2 separate regions of the Homo sapiens genome follow, and region 1 is linked to region 2. The links are contacts of gene promoters, found by promoter capture Hi-C in human tissues and cell types (Jung and others, 2019). All regions are on one chromosome and are shown on one strand. The core of a region is centred on a gene start or on the middle of the fragment in contact, and the rest is flanking DNA. Distances in the headings are between cores, read along the strand shown. Region 1 overlaps TTC29 (tetratricopeptide repeat domain 29). Region 2 holds the start of SLC10A7 (solute carrier family 10 member 7).

Region 1 (5,094 bases), core at 1,846-4,345, 380 kb before region 2:
AGAAATTTTCGTGATTTGAAATTATTTCTCATTTGCTTACTTATTTGTTAGTCATGTTCTGCCCCTAGAATGTAAGCGTCACAAGGGTATGGAATCTATTTGGTCTAGAACAGCGCCTGGCACTTAGTAGGAAACTCAGCACCTATTTGTCGCTTGACTAAATGGAATATTCATTTGTCACTTTATCTTTTTGCATTTGATTATTGAAGTGAGAATATAATTATTAATCATTAACTTAATTCTAACTGAAAGTAATTAAAAAATATATAGTTAGTAATAGATTTCAATAAATATTTTCTGCATGAATGAAAGAATGATGAACTTCTGTAACATACAGTGAAACTACTAATATAGAGAGAATATTGTTTTGATATTAAATGGCAAGTTTTATTTTTGCTTGACTTGTTGAGGTTTTTTTTGGTGGGAGGCTGATATATCAAGTATTTTTTAATATTCATCAGTCAACTAGCTTATTTGTCCTTATCAAATGGAGCTCAGCTCTGGAACTGATATGTTTATAATGTAATTTCATTAAAATTACTGTGTTTAGATAGCTCCTGGCATCTTTCATTAAACAGAAGTTGTTCAATTATAAGTGTTTGAGGCAAAGATCTTTTGATAGTTTTCAGTGCTTTCACTGAGGGATAAAAGGCAACATGATTCAACCTTTAATTATTAGAGAATGAAAATACCGTGCAGACTGAAAGGATTAACATAAACCTGAGAGTGTTCTGATTCATATTTCCAGTTATAGGAACTCCTACAAGAAGAATATCTGTGTGGACATGCTGCGAGATGGTTATCATAAGTCCTTCACCGAGCTCTTCGCTCTGATGGAGCGGTGGGATGCCCTGAGGGAGGCTGCGAGAGTCAGGTCCCTCTTCTGGCTGCAGAAGCCCCTGGAGGAGCAGCCTGATAAACTGGATTACCTGTACCATTACCTGACCAGGGCTGAGGACGCTGAGAGGAAAGGTAAGTGGTGGGACTGTGGGCAGAGCACAGAAGGAGCCAGAACACCGAGCTCCTGGGGGAAGATTCCAGATTGTTTCATGTATGAATTTGAAACATTAAGACAACTTAGCACACTTCAACCCAGTCAATTAAACGTCTTTATGGAATTAAGGAAAGGGAATGTTGGATCACGAGGCTGCCCAGACACGGGGGCATTCTGGTGATGTCCTTCCGAGCCAGGGAAGACAACACATAGCACCTAATAATATCTCCAGAACTTCCCCCATGAATTAACATAGTTCCTATCATTAGGTTTAAACCTTTCTACAGTTTTTCTGTATACGTAATCTGAATATTGACTTTCATAGAGGAGATACTTTCAAAGAGTACTATAACTTGAAAATCACACTGATTTTCCTAAGTTTAGATAGTGGACTTTGAAGTTTGGGTCAAGAAGTCCTACTGATTTGAATCAGAGAATTTATCTTTGTAAATAGTAAAAAGACATGAAAATCCTGCAATTCACAATTGCAAATAAAATTGTCAATTTTATATTTTCCATGACATCATTTCTAATACATTTTTTGTATTTCAAAATTTTCCAGAAAGTTAGTATACATTCCAAGTATTAAATATTTTCATTTCTACACTAATTATACTGATATTGTTGTCATAAATATTTCTTAGTTACATATTAGGAACTGGTCATTTTAACTAGTCATCTATAATCAAATAAAAAAATGAAATTCTAGAATTTGGCATGTAAATTTGGTATTCTAAATTATTCTTTTCTCCAAATTTTTTGGGGAAAATACCACAGGATTCAAAAAGAAAAACTCAGGCCTCAACATGACAATGTCTACATGTCATTTCAGGCTTTTCTATGAGAAAATAGGGTATCAGCAACTTTTTGTTACCCAATGGTACCATGGAGAAAATTTATGGAGTCATGTAAACAACATTAGAAGAGTCTCTATATGTTGGAGCCAATACATATTTCCCATCAGGTTGTGACCTGACTTATGAATATGAGACACACAAAAATGTGAACAACAAAACAAATGAACTAGGGTGTGTGTGTGGCAGGGGTGGGATAGGAGGTGGTTATGTATATTATGAAAAGGGTTTCACTGCAGGATGGATGTGAAAAAAAATATTTTGGTGAACTTTAAAATATTATTTACAATTATTTCTCAAGAAATTAACTATTGTAAATAAAAAGTGCTATTATAAAAAACCTCCATTTTGGCTGGGCGCGGTGGCTCATGCCTGTAATTCTAGCACTTTGGGAGGCCAAGGCGGGTGGATCACCTGAGGTCAGGAGTTTGAGACCAGCCTGGCCAACATGGTGAAAACCCGTCTCTACTAAAAATACAAAAAAATTAGCCGGGCATGATGGCGGACGCCTGTAATCCCAGCTACTCAGAAGGCTGAGGCAGGGAATTGCTTGAACCCGAGAGACAAAAGTTGCAGTGAGCTGAGATTGCTCCATTGCGCTCCAGCTTGGGTGACAAGAGCAAGACTCCATCTCAAAACAAAACAAACAAAACAAAACAAAACAACCTACATTCTAGTATTTGCCCAAAATTCTACAGTGATATTTAAACTGAAAGTAGAACTAAGATAATATTTGCTCATTAGCTGTTTTATTCCATTGAATTTTATCATATTCACTGTTTTAAATTGAGGCTTTCATTGGAGATAGTGTAAATATAAGCTAAATATGTCACTTGTCATAAGGTGTCATAGATGTGAGCCAGCTTGTCATAAAGCTTTTTCAAATTTATAAGAACCTAAAATGCCAAATAGTCTATTTGAGGGTAGAAAACATTTTAATATATAATATTTCTTAAAGGAAAGTTACTATAAGTAAAAATGTTTCTCCAATCCAAAAGTTAACAAAGCCTAACTTTTTGTTTTGTTTTGAGACAAACTCTTGTTCTGTCAACCAGGCTGGAGTACAGTGATGTGATCTCAGCTCACTGCAACCTCCTTCTTCCAGGTTCAAGTGATTTTCCTGCCTCAGCCTCCCGAGTAGCTGGGACTACAGGCACAAACCACCATGCCAAGCTAATTTTTGTATTTTTAGTAGAGACGGGGTTTCACCATGTTGGCCAGGCTGGTCTCGAACTCCTAACCTCAAGTGATTCTCCTACCTTGGTCTCCCAAAGAGCTGGGATTACAGGCGTAAGCCACCGCACCTGGCCCAAAGTCCAAAGTTATAATAGCCAAAGTCTCTTCTGTAGGATTATCTCCCACAAAATGCAGTGGCTTTTGTCTGGTTGAAATATAGAAAATTAAAATTATTACAAAAGTATTACTGGAAAAACTTCAGCTGAAGGACATGTAAACATTTGTGTCACCTTTTTTCAAAAATTGTTATAATTTTTTTTCCACATTCAACACATGAACTTTATTGGAGGAAAATTGTGGTTTGAATTAGGGATGTACCAGAAAATGAGATATGCACATTCACTCTTATTAACTTGAATGAATCCTAAATCTTAAAATGTGTATGTAAGCCTAGAATATAGAAATGTGTTAATAGTATCTTAAAGTTCCATTCCATATGGTTGTGACATTAGAGGCAATTTTCCTGAGATAGCATATAACTGAGCAATCTCGTTGCTTCTCATTGGAAGAACCATCACTCTAGGGTCACAGTGAAGTTCATTTAATCAAAGCTATGGCATTAACAATAGTCATCTCAGGTCAGTTCTATCTCTTGAGACTTACAGAGCAGTAACCTAGAGTTATTTAAATTACTTTATAAAACACTTGCTGTTTTATAGCAAAGGTGTGTTTAAAGTAAGCCAATCATTTCTTTTTGGGTTATTTTCCATTTGTTAAAGTGTTTCTTTGTCCCTGATACTTTTTTTTTTTAAATATTATCCATTGTCATGAATCATTGCTGTGCCATCTGTGACATCTGATTTGAGCCTTATGCCCCATGGGGCTAGGGAAGAGATGACAAAAATGGTAATGGGTAAGAGAATCAATAGATAATTCAAACATTATTTACACTTGACTTTTAAATTTATTAAGGGTTGAGCAGCAATTTTTTTCTAATAATGTTTGTTTAAGATACACAAATTATGTTCTAAGGCAAAATTCCACAGGTGTTTACAGATTTGATGTAAAGCAAAACAAAACAATTTTCTGGCCAAATAAGCTTGAGAAATACCCGGTGAACTAACATTGAGGTTAAGCAGGTTAATTTATTGCAGGACTAATCAGAGCATTCAGCATGCTGATGTATATTGTGTGGTTTACTGAAAAAGGAAATTTGCAAAAATGTTTCCCAAATTTATTTTATTGTAGAATCTTCTTTTTAAGGAGCATAAGAAACCCACAATAAAATTGATTTTCATCTTCTGAATATACCTGCTGTCAATTCAAGGAAGTGGTCTACAAGCAAGGAGAGAAGGCTACTTGTAGCCTTTGTAAAGGGTACAGGACACATATTTGGATTGCCCAAAGATTTGAAACTTGAATATATTCTTTTATATTTAATATTCTAGAAAACAATCCTTTATTCATAGAAAAATAGCTTAGCTGACAAGTAGTCTTTAAATATGTAATCTTGGTAGCTTATCTAACTCATTCCTAAAAAAAAAAACCTTATGAAATGTTGCAAATATTTTTACATTAAGGTTTAATTACTAAAATATAAAAAAATTGTTTCGGGACTACATATATTTTTAATTATATATATATATATACTTTTTATTAAAGTGGAAAATATGAAATGTTTTACTTACTGACTTCTAAAAGCAATAACTCTCTAATCAGTAAATATAACCAAGAATATGAAATATTACAAAACAGACTTTAGTGTTGTATTCACATTATGTAGGAAGTTCATAATGGAAAGACAAAGCACAGAAGTATTCTGAGGTGGGAGTATTTGCGTCAGATAAATAGCTTAGGTCATGCGCTACTTTTCACCTGAGCTGTCACCTGGTGTGAGTGTCCTCGAAAAGCAGAATGGCTCTCCAGAATCTCCAGCAACTTCCAGGATAGGGAGACCTTTTTATTTTGTTTTCCAGTTATTAAATTTATTTTGATATAAATGTTAATTTCCATTGGAATTTTAAAGAAGTATATGTAAAGGAATAGAATCGGTTTTAGAAATTTCTTTTG
Region 2 (5,189 bases), core at 446-2,945:
TAATGATGTTTTAATACAAAACTATCCCTTCAATGACTGAGACGTATGACTCTTTAACCTACTAAGAAATTACTATAAGAAAATAATTATGTTGTAAACTATCTTTCATTTATCTTCACTTATCTTCTGACTGCCTGACAACTAACATCAAATTTTATATTTCATGTACCTGTCTCTTTTCAGAGTAAACTGCTTAATGTCATCTATGTCTCCCTGTTAAGTTCTTTTTATCTTGAAATTAATTTTTTTTCATGTTGCCTGATGTATAATTAGATGACACTTGGTACTGTGTAACCTACAACTGGGAGCACAACTCTTAAAGTGGCTTAGTTTCTGGAAGTCTTGCCATCAAGATAAAGCTAAATTAAATAGAGGAAATGACACGACGAGTGTCTTTCCAGCTTTGAATAAATTCAGAATTAAAGTCTGTCATCACGAAACAATCTCTTCCAAACCTTAAGTTCTATTTTTAACCATTTAAGTGGCAGATGCCAGGTTATTTCAAAATATCACATACTATTTTCTTTCTTTCTTCATTTGGATGAATGATACAGTGGAGTTCATGCTCTTGCAGGGTCTACCGGTAGGAAGTCCATTCATGAAACCATCAATGTCACTGGTTGCCACAAGACATTTCAAGGAAGAAACTGGCAGATAGAACTAGCACTCGTGGCAATGGAAGGTAGGACTCCCCAACCTCTCAGACTCAATCCCCCACCACTTCCGCGTTGGAATCCGCGACCCTCTTCCCAGAGTTTTCCTGTGGCTTGGGTAGGTCAGCCCTGGGGGCGAGCCAGAGCGGGCACCCGCGCGCCCAGGGGCTTGCCAGCGCAGACCCCACTCCGCCCGCGAGTAGCTTAGTTGGTGGGGAGACTTCAGCTGTCACTCTCGGCCCGCAAAGGCAGATCTGCCCCGATCCCTGCAGCCCTCCCCAGTCCCGGAGACAGGTGTGGGCCGCAGAGGGAAGGGGATCCGGACCAAATGCCCACCCGCAGGCGAGCGACCTGGCGAGGTCGGGCCCACCTTCCTTGGGTTGTAGCGGACGCCGGCAAGCAGGGGTCCAGCGAACGTGGGCATCTGCCCGGCGCCGGATTTTCAACCCACCGCCAGAGATAAGGCTCCCCGCCCACCAGCGAGCCACTTTCCCGCGCGGACACCTCTAACTCCGGCAGCTCAGGCTGGGAACTCGGAGATCCAGAGTGGCCTCCCCTCCCCCCCGCGCATACGTCAGCGCTAGCGTCGTGGAAGCGCCGTAATGTCCCGAAGAAGCGCGTCTCCAAACTTGCACCCCGCTGCCGCAGCTTCAACGGAGAAATCCCTTGCCCCAAGCACACGTCAGCCCTGCCCGCGGAGTCATGGCACAGCAAAAGAGAGGCTCTCCATGGAGATATGCTCCAGAAGGGTGGGTGGCTGTGCCTAAAGGTTTGTTAGAAAAGGACAGTCAGTGAGGCTTGCTGGCTGTGGCGCCTTACGACGCTCTCCCCGACCCCTCGTCATTCAGAAGGTTCCGCAGGTCTCGACAGCGGTGCGCTTGTCAGCCCCATCCGGCGGCCAGCCTCCCTTGCCGGATCGCCCACGTTGTCGGCCTGGTCCGAGTTCTTCATTTCAAAGCATCTGCACCTGCGAGCCCGCGGCCAGAGGCGCTGGGGGCGTTTGTGCGCGTGTATTCTGAGGCGCGTGGTAGTGATGGCGGCGCTCAGTGAGACTTTCCTGTCACTGGCTACTACTACTCCCAACCCTCCTCAAAGCCGCCGGAGCAACCCCCAGGTCTTTACTTTACAATCGGCAATTTGACTTGCTCTGCTGCATGTCTGGAGGGACCAAGGAAAGTGTGGAGACGCTCCAAGGATTAGGTGATCGGAGCTTGAAAAGAAAAAAAGCCAAACAAATAAACAAAACCCACCCACCCTAACAAATATGAGGCTGCTGGAGAGAATGAGGAAAGACTGGTTCATGGTCGGAATAGTGCTGGCGATCGCTGGAGCTAAACTGGAGCCGTCCATAGGGGTGAATGGGGGTAAGTGCTGCACCTCTGCCGGCTCCACCGCGGCTCCCACTTCAGAACTAATTTGTGAGTCTTGGAAAGGTGGGGCAACCCTCATTGCAAGCGCTTGCCAATTTCAGGGGGCACTGACCAGCCTTTGGCCCTTTTGCTGATTTTCTAATTTACCAACCCCAGAGGGAACTTGTAATTAGGAACGAGGCAAAGGAATTTGAGGGCAGGTAGCCTTTTCCGTAGACAAACAATGACTATCCTGAGTGTCAAGAAGTGAGGTTACAGAGAATGAAACTTACTCCTCTTGCCTTCAAAGTAGCATCCTATCCCAAGGGAATCTAGGTTGCTAAGAGTTCCGTATCTATCTTGGAGTGGACCTCATTATCGAGTCTACTTTCGAGTCCTCCCCGCCCCCACATTAAAAAAAAAAGTGGAGGAAAAACAAGAAAAGGGACACCTCCGCCCCCAACTCAGATTTTATGGCCCACATGTTGGAGAGTGATGATTTGCTGTAGTTGCTGGTGCTCCAGAAACTCCCAAGCCGACTGACACGTTGCACTCTTTGATTACAGGACACTTCATTACAGCATACTTCCGTGTGCTGCCGGGATTCAGTTGCTATACTAGCAGTCTAACAGATACAGACTGTTAGACTATGTGTAGTGTAGTGTAGTGTGTGTTTTGGCAAGGAAATGTGGATGGACTGAAAGCATACTTAGATCTCTGAATAGTGGGAGCTTTGTACAGGAGATGATGGGCACTGGTGGGAACATTAGAAATATTAGTTTTTTATGCCCCCCCCAACACCTTTAGACAATCTTGTACTACTTTTCATAAACATTAATTGAATTTATTCAATTCGCTTGTCTTTTTGACCTTGTTTGTCAGTTTCCAAGCTTATTGACAGGTTTAATACCTAACTCATGCAACCGGAGCAAATAAGGATAGAGGTGAACAGGCACAATATTTCATAGTAGGAAGCGCTCAGGAGGATATTTGAAGTTATTTTTATCTTTTTGTTAAAACATGATGGAAGTGAATGAAATGATCTCTTAGGAGAACAGCAGTGGTCCCTTCTCCCCTTAACCTCCACCCCATTACTCTGTTTAGAAGTAGCTTCCGGGAACATTTTAAAAGGAATTATTTAAACCAAAATTGTGGAGATGAAGGATTGTTTGTTTTAAAATTTTGTTCTTCTGTATTCAACTTAGAACAAAATGTGTAGAATATGTAACTGTGAGAATAAAGCAGTTATTCCTGGTGGTTTCTCCCTCTGATTGATGGTAATAGTTTCTTCTTTAACACTGCTGCTCTGTGAACTTTTGGGAAACTCTTGTGAAGATCAGGTCTGTCAAATGAAGACCCCCTATCCCCGGAGCTAAATGAATAGTAAGACTTAGAGTACCTTTGCATGATCTGCAATGCACACTTCACTAGCTATCGCTTCTCGTGTTAGATCTCTTATTTGCTCAGTTTTGAGATGAAATTACAGAGGATGTATGATCTTTAACTTTAAATCTGCAGGGGCTAAGTTTGGCAAAATATCTTTTACCTTGCATTCCTAAATATTCTGTGGGAAGAAAGGTGTTGAATGCTGAATCATTTCCGTGGGGCTTTTCTGCAGTGGCATGTATGAGATAGATTCTGCAAACTTATGTGTTCCATAGACTCTGCTTATTAATATTTTGGTACATTATTGTATCATAGAAATGCCATTTCCCATTTCCACTAGTCCTTCTGTCTTTAATGTAGGATAATTCATTCCTTTGTTTAATTATAATAGAATGTTAAGAGGGGGAGGGGAATATTTAAAGTGTTTTAAGCCAACATGCTTCTTTTACAGTTGAAGATACCAGGTGACTCTCTCTAGGTTAAGGTAGCTAGCTTAGGGAAGAGGAACTATTGGAGACCAGGGTATTTAAAATTCCTGGGAAACTTCTACTTCCCAAGCAAGCCAGATTCCTTGACTTTAAAATCTGCTCCTGAATCACCTTGCTTAGCTGCTGAAGAAATATTACCTGTGTGAGCTGCTGAGACAGATTCACTAACAAATATAAAGATAATGTACCTCTTATAAAAGTTTTTGAGCAGCCTTCACTGCCCCCAAATGCAATGCCTTTTGCACTTGCCTTCTCCCTTTCTTTCCCTTTTCTTAGATCTCAGCAAAATGATTTGTGTAAATGCCAGGCATATTAAATAATTTATTACAGCATTTGAGGAAATCTTTGTTTCTTTTATTCATTGTTGTACTACAAATGCCTAAGACATAGTAGGTCATCTCTCTCTATATATAGATAATATTATATATTATGTTAAATAATGTATTATATATTATCATATTATATATTATGTTATATATTGTATATAATATGTTATATATTATATAAAATATATTATTATATATAATATATATTCTCTCTCAGAGGGGCCTTGAGATATTATGTATATTATATATTATGTACATTATTGTATCATATATTATATATTATGTTATATACATAATATATATTAATTATATATTATATTATATATATATATATATATATATATATATATATATATATATATATATGGTGATTTTTCCTGAGCTTGGTCTTCTGTCCATATATCGAACAAGTGGAGGGTTTCAGGCTATGGAGGAGCCGTGATTGTTGTCCTGTTGTTTTGCTTAAGTGAGTGTATTAGTTTCTTAGGGCTGCCACAACAAATTACCATGAACCAGGTGGCTCAGTACAACAGAAATTTATTATCTCACAGTTCTAGAAGCCAGAAGTCTGAGGTCAAGATGTCCTCCAAAGGACATCTGGGAAAGAATCCTTTGAGTCTTCTAGCTTGTGGTGGTTGCCAGCCGTTCCTTGGCTTGTGGCAATATAACTCCAGCCTCCACCTCTGTCATCACATGGCTATCTTCCTTGTGCATGTGTCTGTGTCCAAATTTCCATCTTTTAAGAATACCGGTTATTGGATTAATGTCCCTCCTAATCCAATAAGACCTCATCTTAACTTGATTACATCTGCAAAGACCCTATTTCCAAAAATGTGACATTCACAGGTTCTGGGTGGGCATGAATTTTGGGAGTCGGGGGACACTATTTAATCTAGTACAAGAAGACTGAATAGGATGCCAAATATGAGATGATCTTAGGTTTTTAAATGTTGCCATGTACCAAGATTTCTCAGCCTTGGCACATTG

What was found. The method cuts DNA at HindIII sites, captures the fragments that hold promoters and counts their contacts. A contact is called where the count stands out against the background at its distance.
Region 1: a contact is called between a fragment that was not itself captured here and the fragment with the promoter of SLC10A7 in region 2, in 1 of the 25 tissues and cell types used here (mesendoderm cells).

The regions. Positions count from the first base shown.
Region 1 is chr4:146,904,904-146,909,997 of GRCh38, reverse strand. It overlaps TTC29 (tetratricopeptide repeat domain 29), which reads left to right. Exons shown (of 13, transcript NM_031956.4): 5 at 749-972. Among named protein-coding and RNA genes, the nearest start is that of TTC29-AS1, 27 kb to the left of the region's middle. The HindIII fragment of the contact is 5,691 bases long and covers 250-5,094 here.
Region 2 is chr4:146,518,446-146,523,634 of GRCh38, reverse strand. It overlaps SLC10A7 (solute carrier family 10 member 7), which reads left to right and starts at 1,695. Exons shown (of 12, transcript NM_001029998.6): 1 at 1,695-2,017. The coding sequence starts at 1,918. RefSeq lists enhancers at 848-927, 1,098-1,517, 1,528-1,607, 1,828-1,897, 2,338-2,567. The HindIII fragment of the contact is 10,684 bases long and covers 1-4,336 here.